2 separate regions of the Homo sapiens genome follow, and region 1 is linked to region 2. Evidence: promoter capture Hi-C in human tissues and cell types (Jung and others, 2019). All regions are on one chromosome and are shown on one strand. The core of a region is centred on a gene start or on the middle of the fragment in contact, and the rest is flanking DNA. Distances in the headings are between cores, read along the strand shown.

The links. The method cuts DNA at HindIII sites, captures the fragments that hold promoters and counts their contacts. A contact is called where the count stands out against the background at its distance.
Region 1: a fragment that was not itself captured here is called in contact with the fragment with the promoter of HNRNPF in region 2 in 1 of the 25 tissues and cell types used here (dorsolateral prefrontal cortex).

What each region holds. Positions count from the first base shown.
Region 1 is chr10:42,543,385-42,547,922 of GRCh38, reverse strand. It overlaps the pseudogene ZNF37BP. Among named protein-coding and RNA genes, the nearest start is that of LINC00839, 70 kb to the right of the region's middle. The HindIII fragment of the contact is 4,235 bases long and covers 414-4,538 here.
Region 2 is chr10:43,406,288-43,411,037 of GRCh38, reverse strand. HNRNPF (heterogeneous nuclear ribonucleoprotein F) reads left to right here and starts at 1,852. Exons shown (of 4, transcript NM_001098204.2): 1 at 1,852-1,907. RefSeq lists silencers at 1,433-1,662, 2,113-2,232, 3,513-3,882 and enhancers at 1,953-2,012, 2,743-3,082, 2,522-3,125, 3,093-3,142, 3,283-3,342. The HindIII fragment of the contact is 13,159 bases long and covers 1,598-4,750 here.

The DNA.
Region 1 (4,538 bases), core at 1,282-3,781, 860 kb after region 2:
ATTCTCTACCCATTAAACAATAACTCCCCATTTTCCCCTCCTCCTTGCCCCTGGCAACCACCATCCTACTTTCTGTTTCTATGAGTTTCACTATTTTTGCTATATCTCATATAAGTGAAATCATACAGTATTTGTCTTATTGTGACTGGCTTATTTCACCTAGCGTAATGTCCTCAAGCTTCCTCAGTGTTGTAGCATGTGTCAGAATTTATCTCCTTTCTGATGTTGAATGATATTTCATTGTACCCATGTTTTGTTTATTCATTCATCTGTCAGTGGACATTTGGGTTCCTTCCTCCTTTTAACTGTTGTGAATAATGCTACTGTGAACATGGGGTACAACTATTCTTTGAGATCCTTCTTTCAGTTCTTTTGGTTATATACTCAGAAGTGGTATGGCTGGAACCTATGGTAATTCTATTTTTAATTCCTTGAGGAAACACCGACCTGTTTTCTACAGAAGGTGCACCATTTTACAGTCCCATCCTCAGTGTACAGGATTCTGATTTCTCCATATCCTTGCCAACACTCGTTATTTTCTTTTGTTGTTTTGATAGCAGCCATTGTAATGGGTGTATGGTAATTTTTCACTGTGGTTTTGATTTGTATTTCCCTAATGATCAGTGATGTTGAGCATATTTTCATAAGCTTGCTGACCATTTATATATCTTTAATGGAGAAATGTCTGTTCAAATCCTTTGTCCATCTTTGAATCAGGTTATTTTGTTTGTTTTGAGTTGTAGGGGTTCTTTATATATTTTTTATATTAATTCCTCATCAGATACATGAATTGCAAATATTTCCTCCTGTTGTGTTGGTTGTCTTTTCATTCAGTTAACTGTGTCCTTTGATGCACAATTTTTAAGTTTGATGTGGTCCAATTTATTTTTATTTCTGTTGCCTGTGGTTTTTGGTATTATATCCAAGAAAACATTGCCACACGAATCCATTCTCCTATGTGTTCTGCCATGAGTTTTGTACCTTTAGTTCTTAGATTTAGGTCTTTGATTCATTTTGAGTTAATTTTTTTGTTTTTGTTTTGTTTTGCATGTGGCTATCCAGTTTTACCAACACTATTTGTTAGAAAAATTGTCCTTTCCCTATTGACTGTTCTTGACAACTTTGTTGAAAATCATTTTACCATACATGCATGGGTTTTCAAGATTATTTTGGCTAGTTGAGATCCCTTGAAATTCTATGTAAACTTCAGGATGATTTATTTCTATTTCTGTTACTATGTCTTCTTTGTAGACTTAGTTTTTTTTTTTTTTTAATCAATATGTAGTGTTTTTCTCTTGTAACAATTTTTGATTTAAAGTCTCTTTTGTCTCAGTATAGCCACCCTGGCATTCTTTAGGTTACTATCCTCTTCTGTCATTTCAATTTCAACCTATTGTGTTGTGTGTTTGTATCTAAAGAGAGTGTCTTGTAGACAATATATACCTGGATCATATATTTTTATTTATTTTGCCAATTTATTTTTATTTTTATTATTTATTTTATTTTATTTTTTTTTTGAGACAGAGTCTTACTGCATCACCCAGGCTGGAGTGCAGTGGTGCGATCTTGACTCTCTGCAACCTCTGCCTCCAGCGTTCAAGCAGTTCTTCTGCCTCAGCCTCCCGAGTAGCTGGGATTACAGGTGTACACCACTACACCTGGCTAATTTTTGTATTTTTTTTTTTTTTTTAGTAGAGATGGGGTTTCACTGTATTGGTCAGGCTGGTCTCAAACTCCTGACCTCGTGATCCGCCCACCTCAGCCTCCCAAAGTGCTGGGATTACAGGTGTAAGCCACCATGCCCAGCCTATTTTGCCAATTTCTGTCTTTTAGTTGGGAGTTTAGTTTATTTACATTTAGAGTAAATTATAAACTGATAAAGGACTTATACCATTTTGCTATTTGTTTTCCATACGTATTACATCTTTTTTGTTTTCAGTTTTTCTGTGTATGCCTTCTTTTGTGTTTGTTTTTTTCTAATGTGCCATTTTAATTCCTTTTGTATTTGTTTGTAGTCATTATTTACCTAGTGTTAATACTTGGAATTGCAATTAGCATCTTGAATTTATAACAATCTAGCTTGCATTAATACTAACTAAGCCTTAATATTATATAAAAACTCTCCTCCTATACGGCTTTGTCCCTGTCCTTTGTCTTCTTATTGTCTCATTTTATGCCTTCATAAATAGCGTGCACATTACCATAGATTTATAATTATTGTTTTATGTATTTGTCTTTTAAATCATATAGAAAAAAGAGAGAACATAAAAGCCAAGAATACAATAAGACTGGCTTTTGCATTTACTTACAGTAGTTACTTTTACCATTTGAATTTTTTGTGTGTTTCGATTGGAGTTACTGTCTAATGTCCTTTTGTTTCAACCTTAAGGACTTCCTTTTGCATTTCTTGTAGGACAGATCTAGTACTAATAAATTCTCTCAGATTCTGTTGATCTAGGAATGTTTTAATTTCTCTTTCATTTTTGAAAGGCAGTTTTGCCAAATGTAGAATTTTTGATATATATTTTTTTTCTTTTGGCACTTGAAAGGTGCCATTATCCTACTGCCTCTGGCCTTCATGGTTCCTAATAAAAGTCTGGCTGTTAATCTTATTTCAGATCCTTTGTACATGGTTAGTCCCTTATCTCTTGCTACTTTTGAGATTCTTTGTCTTGTGACAATTTATTATTTCTCTCAGTTTGAAGTTCTTTGAGCTTATCCTAATTATAGTTTCTTGAGAGTCTTGGGCATAGAGATTCATGTCTTTCATCAGTTTAGAAGGTCTTCAGACATTATTTCTTCAGATATTTTTGGTTCCCTTTTCTCCTCTTCATTAGCAACTCTTGTTATTAACTTGTTGGTATGCTTGATGTTGTCTCATAGATCTCTTAGGCACTGTCCATTTTTCACCATTCTTTTTCTCTGCTCCACAGAATGAGTAATCTCCATCAGTGTCTTCAATTTTGCTGATTCTTTGTTCTCTTTGAGCTCCAATCTTTTATTAAATCCTTTGACTGATTTTAAAAAAATTTAGTTTTTGTACTTGTCAGCTCCAGACATTCCTAATTACATTTTTGTAATTTTGTTCTGTATATTAATATTTTATATTTGGCAGGGCATCGCTCACCTGCTTTCTGTTAGTTGTCTGGTTTCATTTAGCTTTTTGTGCACATTTAGAACAGTTGATTTAAATTCTTTATCTAGTAAGACCAATAACAAAGGTGTCTTTGAGGACAGGTTTTATTCATTTCTTTTTTCTGTGTGTCTGTGGGTCATATTATCTTCTTTGCATTCCTCATAATTTTTTATTGAAAACTGAACATTTTGAATATTAAAATGTGTTAATTCTAGAAATCAGATTCTTTTCCCCAGAATTTGTTGTTGCTGTTTATTTTGCATTGTTTGTTTATTTTGTGACTTTTCAAAACTATTTTTGTAAAGTTCTTTGTTGTACATGGTCACAGAAACCTCTGTTCCCTTAGTTTAGTGGTCAGTTTGTGATCTGACAGAGATTTCTTTAAATGCCCAAAGCCAAAACAAAACAAAAAACTATTCTGGTCTTTGCATATTTGCCCTGTTTTAGGGCGCTCTTGTAATGGTTTGCCAGGCCATTTACATCTCTGTGTAAAGCTTTACTTCCTGCTTACACTGAGCCTGAAGGTCAACCAGACTGAAAGCTTAGGTTCCTCTCAGGTTTTTTGTGAGCGTGCATATTGCCCTGGCCTTGCACATGACCTCAATTCCCTGGTTTATGCAGGAGCTTTTCAAACCCCTTATCCCCACCCCGGCCCCCATGTATTTCCTTCCCAGTTTTTCCACTCCCAGTTTTATCAGTCCATCTGCTGCTTTTCTCATCTGGCTGCTGAGGCCAGATAATTGCCTTTAAATGCTTTCAACTAGCACTTCCTGGAAGACTAGCCCTGAGAAAGTTCCAAGGCAGGCAAAACAAAGACAAGCCTGTGAGCCACTTCTTCAGAGAGCCCGCATAGACAGATCAAAACACACAACTACAGTTCTCTGAAAACAAAGTGCATACTGTCCACTTTGGCACAGGCATCAGCAAGCCACGCCAGAAATGTTCTGGGCTTACTAGGTTTTTAATTAGATTGGAGAATTCTGAAAAGCTTGATGCTGAGAGGGTTTTTTTTGTTTTTCCAGCTTAATTGTTGCTTTAGTTTGGGATGGAATTTTGGAATTACCTATTCCATTTTCAGCCTGCTTCCCACATCAATTTTTGAGTAATTACTCTGTGGCACAACAGATATGCCTGGCCCATCTTGTCCTTTTCCTGCACTACCTTTGCCATCAGCCATTTCTCCAAAGGACATTGTTCTTTCTAGTGGAGGATGGAATTTAAAAACCAAGATCTGGGTGCTCATTGCTAGAGGCTGTCACTGCCTCAGACCCTCTCAATTGACAGAGATAGGAAATACATGTATGTATGTGTACATACACATACACAGAAATACACATGTGTACACTTATTTTTGTATTGGTCTGTCTATACATATTTTTTAAACAATGAGTTTACATAGACA
Region 2 (4,750 bases), core at 603-3,102:
GTTGCCCAGGCTGGTCTCAAACGCCTAACCTCAGGTGATCCACCCACCTCGGCCTCCCAAAGTCTTGGGATTACAGGCGCGAGCCACCGCGCCCGGCCGGCCACAACTTCTTAAGAATACCTACCTATCTGATTTTCGCCCCTTTCCTATGATGCTGAATACCTATCTGATTTTTGCAGGAACTATTTTCTGTAATTTTGCCTCAAATTATGCAGTTTTCTCTTTGGACATTTTTACCTATTCTGACAGCTCCTGCTTTACTCTTTCCATTCTCTTTCTTGGAACTAGCTTTTTCTTTTAACAAACTCCTTCCTTCATCACAATCATCCCACTCATCATCTGACACTATTTTGAGCACTCCTTTACTTTCTCTGGTGATTTAAAAAATAACGTTCAGCCAGATGCGTGGCTCAATCCAGTAATCCCAACACTCTGGGAGGCGTAGGTGGGCGGATGGCTTGAGTCCAGGAGTTCCCGACCAGCCCGGGCAACACAGCGAAACCTCGCCTCTACAAAAAATACAAAATTTAGCCGAGAGTGGTGGTGCTACTCAGGAGGTTGAGGCAGGAGGATCGCTTGAGCCCAGGAGGTCGAGGCTGCAGTGAGCCGTGATTGTACCACTGCACTCCCGCCTGAATGACAGGGCGATACTCAGTCTGGAAATAATAACAATAGTAACAATGTTCAGCTTAACCTGTGATGAGTGCCTTGACATCATCTCTTCATGAAGAAGATCCACCAAAATAAAATGGTTACAATTATTAGCCCTACAATACATCAAAAAAAAAAAGAAAAGAAAGAAAATCTGTCCCTGGCTTAGCCATTAGCCACCAAATCTGTGTGTTCAGGTGCTCTGTGACTGAAAATCTTGCCCTCGACCTGGGTCTGAGTTACATTCTGAGGTTTGGGGGCTTCTCACACCACGGAATTTATCACCTGAGCAACTTCAACCTGACAAATCCCTCCTAACGCCCTGCTCTGAGACCCCTTTAGGCGGTCTCCGGAGTACTCAGTGTACCTTTTTTTTTTTTTTTTCTTTGAGACGTAGTCTCGCTCTGTCGCTAGGCTGGAGTGCAGTGGCGCGATCTCGGCTCACGCAAGCTCCGCCTCCCGGGTTCAAGCGATTCCCCTGCCTCAGCCACCCGAGTGGCTGGGACTACAAGCGCGCGCCACCACGCCTGGCTAATTTTTTTGTATTTTAGTAGGGGTTTCACTATGTTGGCCAGGATGGTCTCGATTTCCCGACCGCCTGATCCGTCCGCCTCGGCCTCCCAAAGTGGTGGGATTACAGGCGTGAGCCACCGCGCCCGGCCTTCAGTGTACTACTTTCCTTATTTTATTTTTTGAGACAGCGCCTCGCTCTGTCGCCCAGGCTGGACGCAATGGAGCAGTCACGGATCACTGCAGCCTCGACCTCCCGGGCTCAAGCGATTCTCCCGCCTTAGCCTCCCAAATTACTGGGACCACAGGCTTGCGCCACCACGCCCTGCCATCGGCTCTCATTTCCTTTTCCCATCCTAGTCTTCCATCAGGCGTCCTTTCGGCGCACATTTCAGTGTCCTGCGGGGCTCACCAGTGTCCTTCCTCCAGGGCCTCAGGGGCAGTCAGAGGGATCTTTCCCGCCGCTCCACTCCCTCCTCCTCCTCCCCCTCCCCCTATCCCCTCCCCTCCCCTCCCTTCTCCTCTCCAGAAACGTCCTCGCTTGTCCGCCTCCACCGCCTCCCCCGCCAGCCGTGTCGGCTCTGCTCCGCGCCCAGCCGGCCAACCGGCGGCTCAGCTCTGGCGCGTCACAATGCGCCGTCGCGGCCCCGCCCCCGGACGCCGGACGCAGAAACTCCGCCCTGCCGCGGTCCTTGCGTCCTTCCGGCTCCGTCGTGGAAGCAGGACTGCGCCGCGTCTTCCTCAAGGTGGGGTTCGGGGGGCCACCGAATCGCTGTCACGCCGGCAGGTAGCAGGGGGTGGGGACGCGGGCTCCTTGGGCTTCTGTTTCCTGGTGTCCAGGGCAAAGGGCTGAGCCGGGCAGTAGGGCCTAGTCGGGGCCTGGCTCGCCGGGAGCAGGAGGGCTTCCGGCAAAGCCGCGTGCGCTCGACGGGCAGGCGCTGAGGATTGGGGCCGGCAGCGCGCCTGACCCCGCCCCTCGTAGGCTCCGCCCCGTGCTCGCAGGCGGGGGTTTCCATGGTGATGGTCAACAAGCCTCAACTGCCTCTGCTACAACTGCCAAGTTCCCCGCGTCCCACCCTCCTCTAGGTGCTCCAAGGGACCACCGGGGTGCCTGATATGAGAGCGGGAGTGTAGAGACTCGGAGGCCGAGGTGAGGGGCGGCCGAAGTCTCCGAGGTCGAAGGCCGCACACCCGGGACCTAGCGGGGACCGGGTCCCCCTGGGGGTGGGGACGGGGGGTGGGATTTGAGATTAGGGAGACTATCCGAAGTCCAGGGCCCCGTACCCGGACTACCTGGGGACTGGGCCTATTGGGGTGGGGATCGTTGGGCTGGGGCTGGGATTTGGGATCAGGGAAGAGCGATCTGAGTTTAAGCGCCGCAAACCTGGGACCGAGCGAGGACTGCACATAATGAGGGGCCGTGGCGCTGAGATTTGGGTGACGGGATTCGAGGTCGAGGGGCCCGTACGTGGGACCGGCAAGAACTGGACCCACTGGGATCGGGAGACGCAGCGTCGGAGGTCGAGAGCCGCACGCCCAGACAGTGGTCCCACGCGGTGAGCACCGCGGGCTGAGATTTTGGAGTCAGGAAAGCGCGGGGAAGGCACGGACGGCCGGGTGCGTTAGTCCGGCCCCCTGGCGGGGAGCTGGCGACTGCCGGAGGGCTCTGAAAGTGAGAACAGGCCTGGCGCAGTGGGAGGCCCAGCCGGGAGGATCTCTTGAGCCCAGGAGTTCCCGACAAGCCTGGGCAACATAGACTGTCTCTACTGAAAAGTAAAGAAAAAAAAATTAGCCACGTGTGGTGGCGCGCGCCTGTTGTCCCAGCTACTCGGGAGGCTGAGGCGGGAGGGTCGCTTGCTCTGAGGTCGAGGCTGCAGTGACAGTGATTGTGCCACTGCATTCCAGCCGGGCGACGGAAATGAGACCTTGTCTCAAAAGAAGTAATAATAGTAATAATACCTGAGTAAAATGAAAGCCGCGCGCTCACGTGGCTGCAGGCGCCTGAGAGTTGCACAAGACTTCCTTGTGGGGAGTTGGCTCCGCCCTCCTCCCACGCCCGGTTCCCGTAGCCTTAGCTCTCGGCCCCGGGCCCTTTTTCCTCCTCGGCTGCGCCGCGTGTCCTCGGAGCGCGGTCCCTGTATTGGTCTCCTGCTCCTAGAGGTATCGTGTTTGTATTTGGGGTGAAAATCTGACTCGTGCGCGCTCTTCAGCTTAGTCGTCCTTTTTTTTTTCCTTTTGTTTGTTTGTATTAAGTATTTTCGTCGATTCCGCCCTGCTCGTAGGAAACTTGTGGACGGGGCCCGGCTCCTGCTGCGCCGGCTGCCCGGCTCCCCCAACCGCAGAGTCGTGGACCAGGGTTTTGAGGAGCAAGGCACCCGACTCGCCCTCCCCCCAAGGCCGCCCCGGGCGCGGGAACCCCTCCCCCTAGGCGCCTGGGACCCCCGCTCGGCTCCGCGTGTGTCCCGGCGGAGGGTGGAAGGAGAGCCGAGCTCGGCCATTGCCCGCGGGCGGCCCGGGGACGAGCTGACGCGCCTCTTTAGTTCTCGAAACTGCTCGCGGGCGCTGGGGGCTCGGGCCGGCCATCTGCGTGGCGGGACGCGAGGCGCGCGCTGGCGGCTGCGCGCGAAGGGCAACGGGCGGCGGCGGCGGCTTCCCGGAACCGCGCGGGGCGGGCCCTGCGCCGGGGTCAGGGCCACAGCCTCAGGCGGCAGGGAGTTCTGAAAGCGTAGTTTTCAGTCGTTCCGTCCCAAAAGTCATCTTAATTCTTCCAAAAATACACGCATATAATTCTTTCTACTTAGTTATATTTTTAAAAGTTAAATACGTGGTTGTCTCTGAATTCCTAGTAAGATGAAAATTTCTTGGGTTCTCCAGGTAGGTGAAAGATACCTTAAGTGCTATTCCTGCAAAGTGACTCGTTGCTCTCACAGAATTTATAAACTATAAAATAAGACATTACTACTTTAATGAATATTAAGAGAGAGATTGCTTTATTCCTAAGCAAGAAGATCTTTTCCCTTGTAGGTATTACATTCCGGTGTGCATTCTGTAGATTAGAGTCATTATCGGCCGGGCGAGGTGGCTCACGCCTGTAATCCCAGCATTTAGGGAGGCCGAGGTGTGGGAGGATCGCTTGGGCCCCAGAGACCTACCCCGTCTCTATAAAAAAATATGTATTATTTTTTGAGACAGGGTCTCACTTTGTTGCCCAGGCTGGAGTGCAATGGTGTGATCTCGGCTCGCTGCCGAGATCCTCCTGTGCTCAACGGATCCTCCCACCTCAGCCGCCGAGTATCTGGGACCACGGGCACTCTCCAGCACGCCCGGCAAATTTTTGTATTTTTTGTAGAGATGGGGTCTCCTTATGTTGCCCAGATTGATTTTCAAACTTTTGTGCTCAAGCGATTCTCACGCCTCTGCCTCCCAAAGTGCTGGGATTACAGGCGTGAGCCATCGTGCCCGGCCACTTTTTTGTAAACTGCCAAGTTTTCTGTTAAGGGTAGCGTTATAAAGCTTTATTCAGGTAAAAAATGGAATTTATTTAAGGGAAAAGACTGAGTAAATAGAAAGTTACTTCTCCCACGTGGCC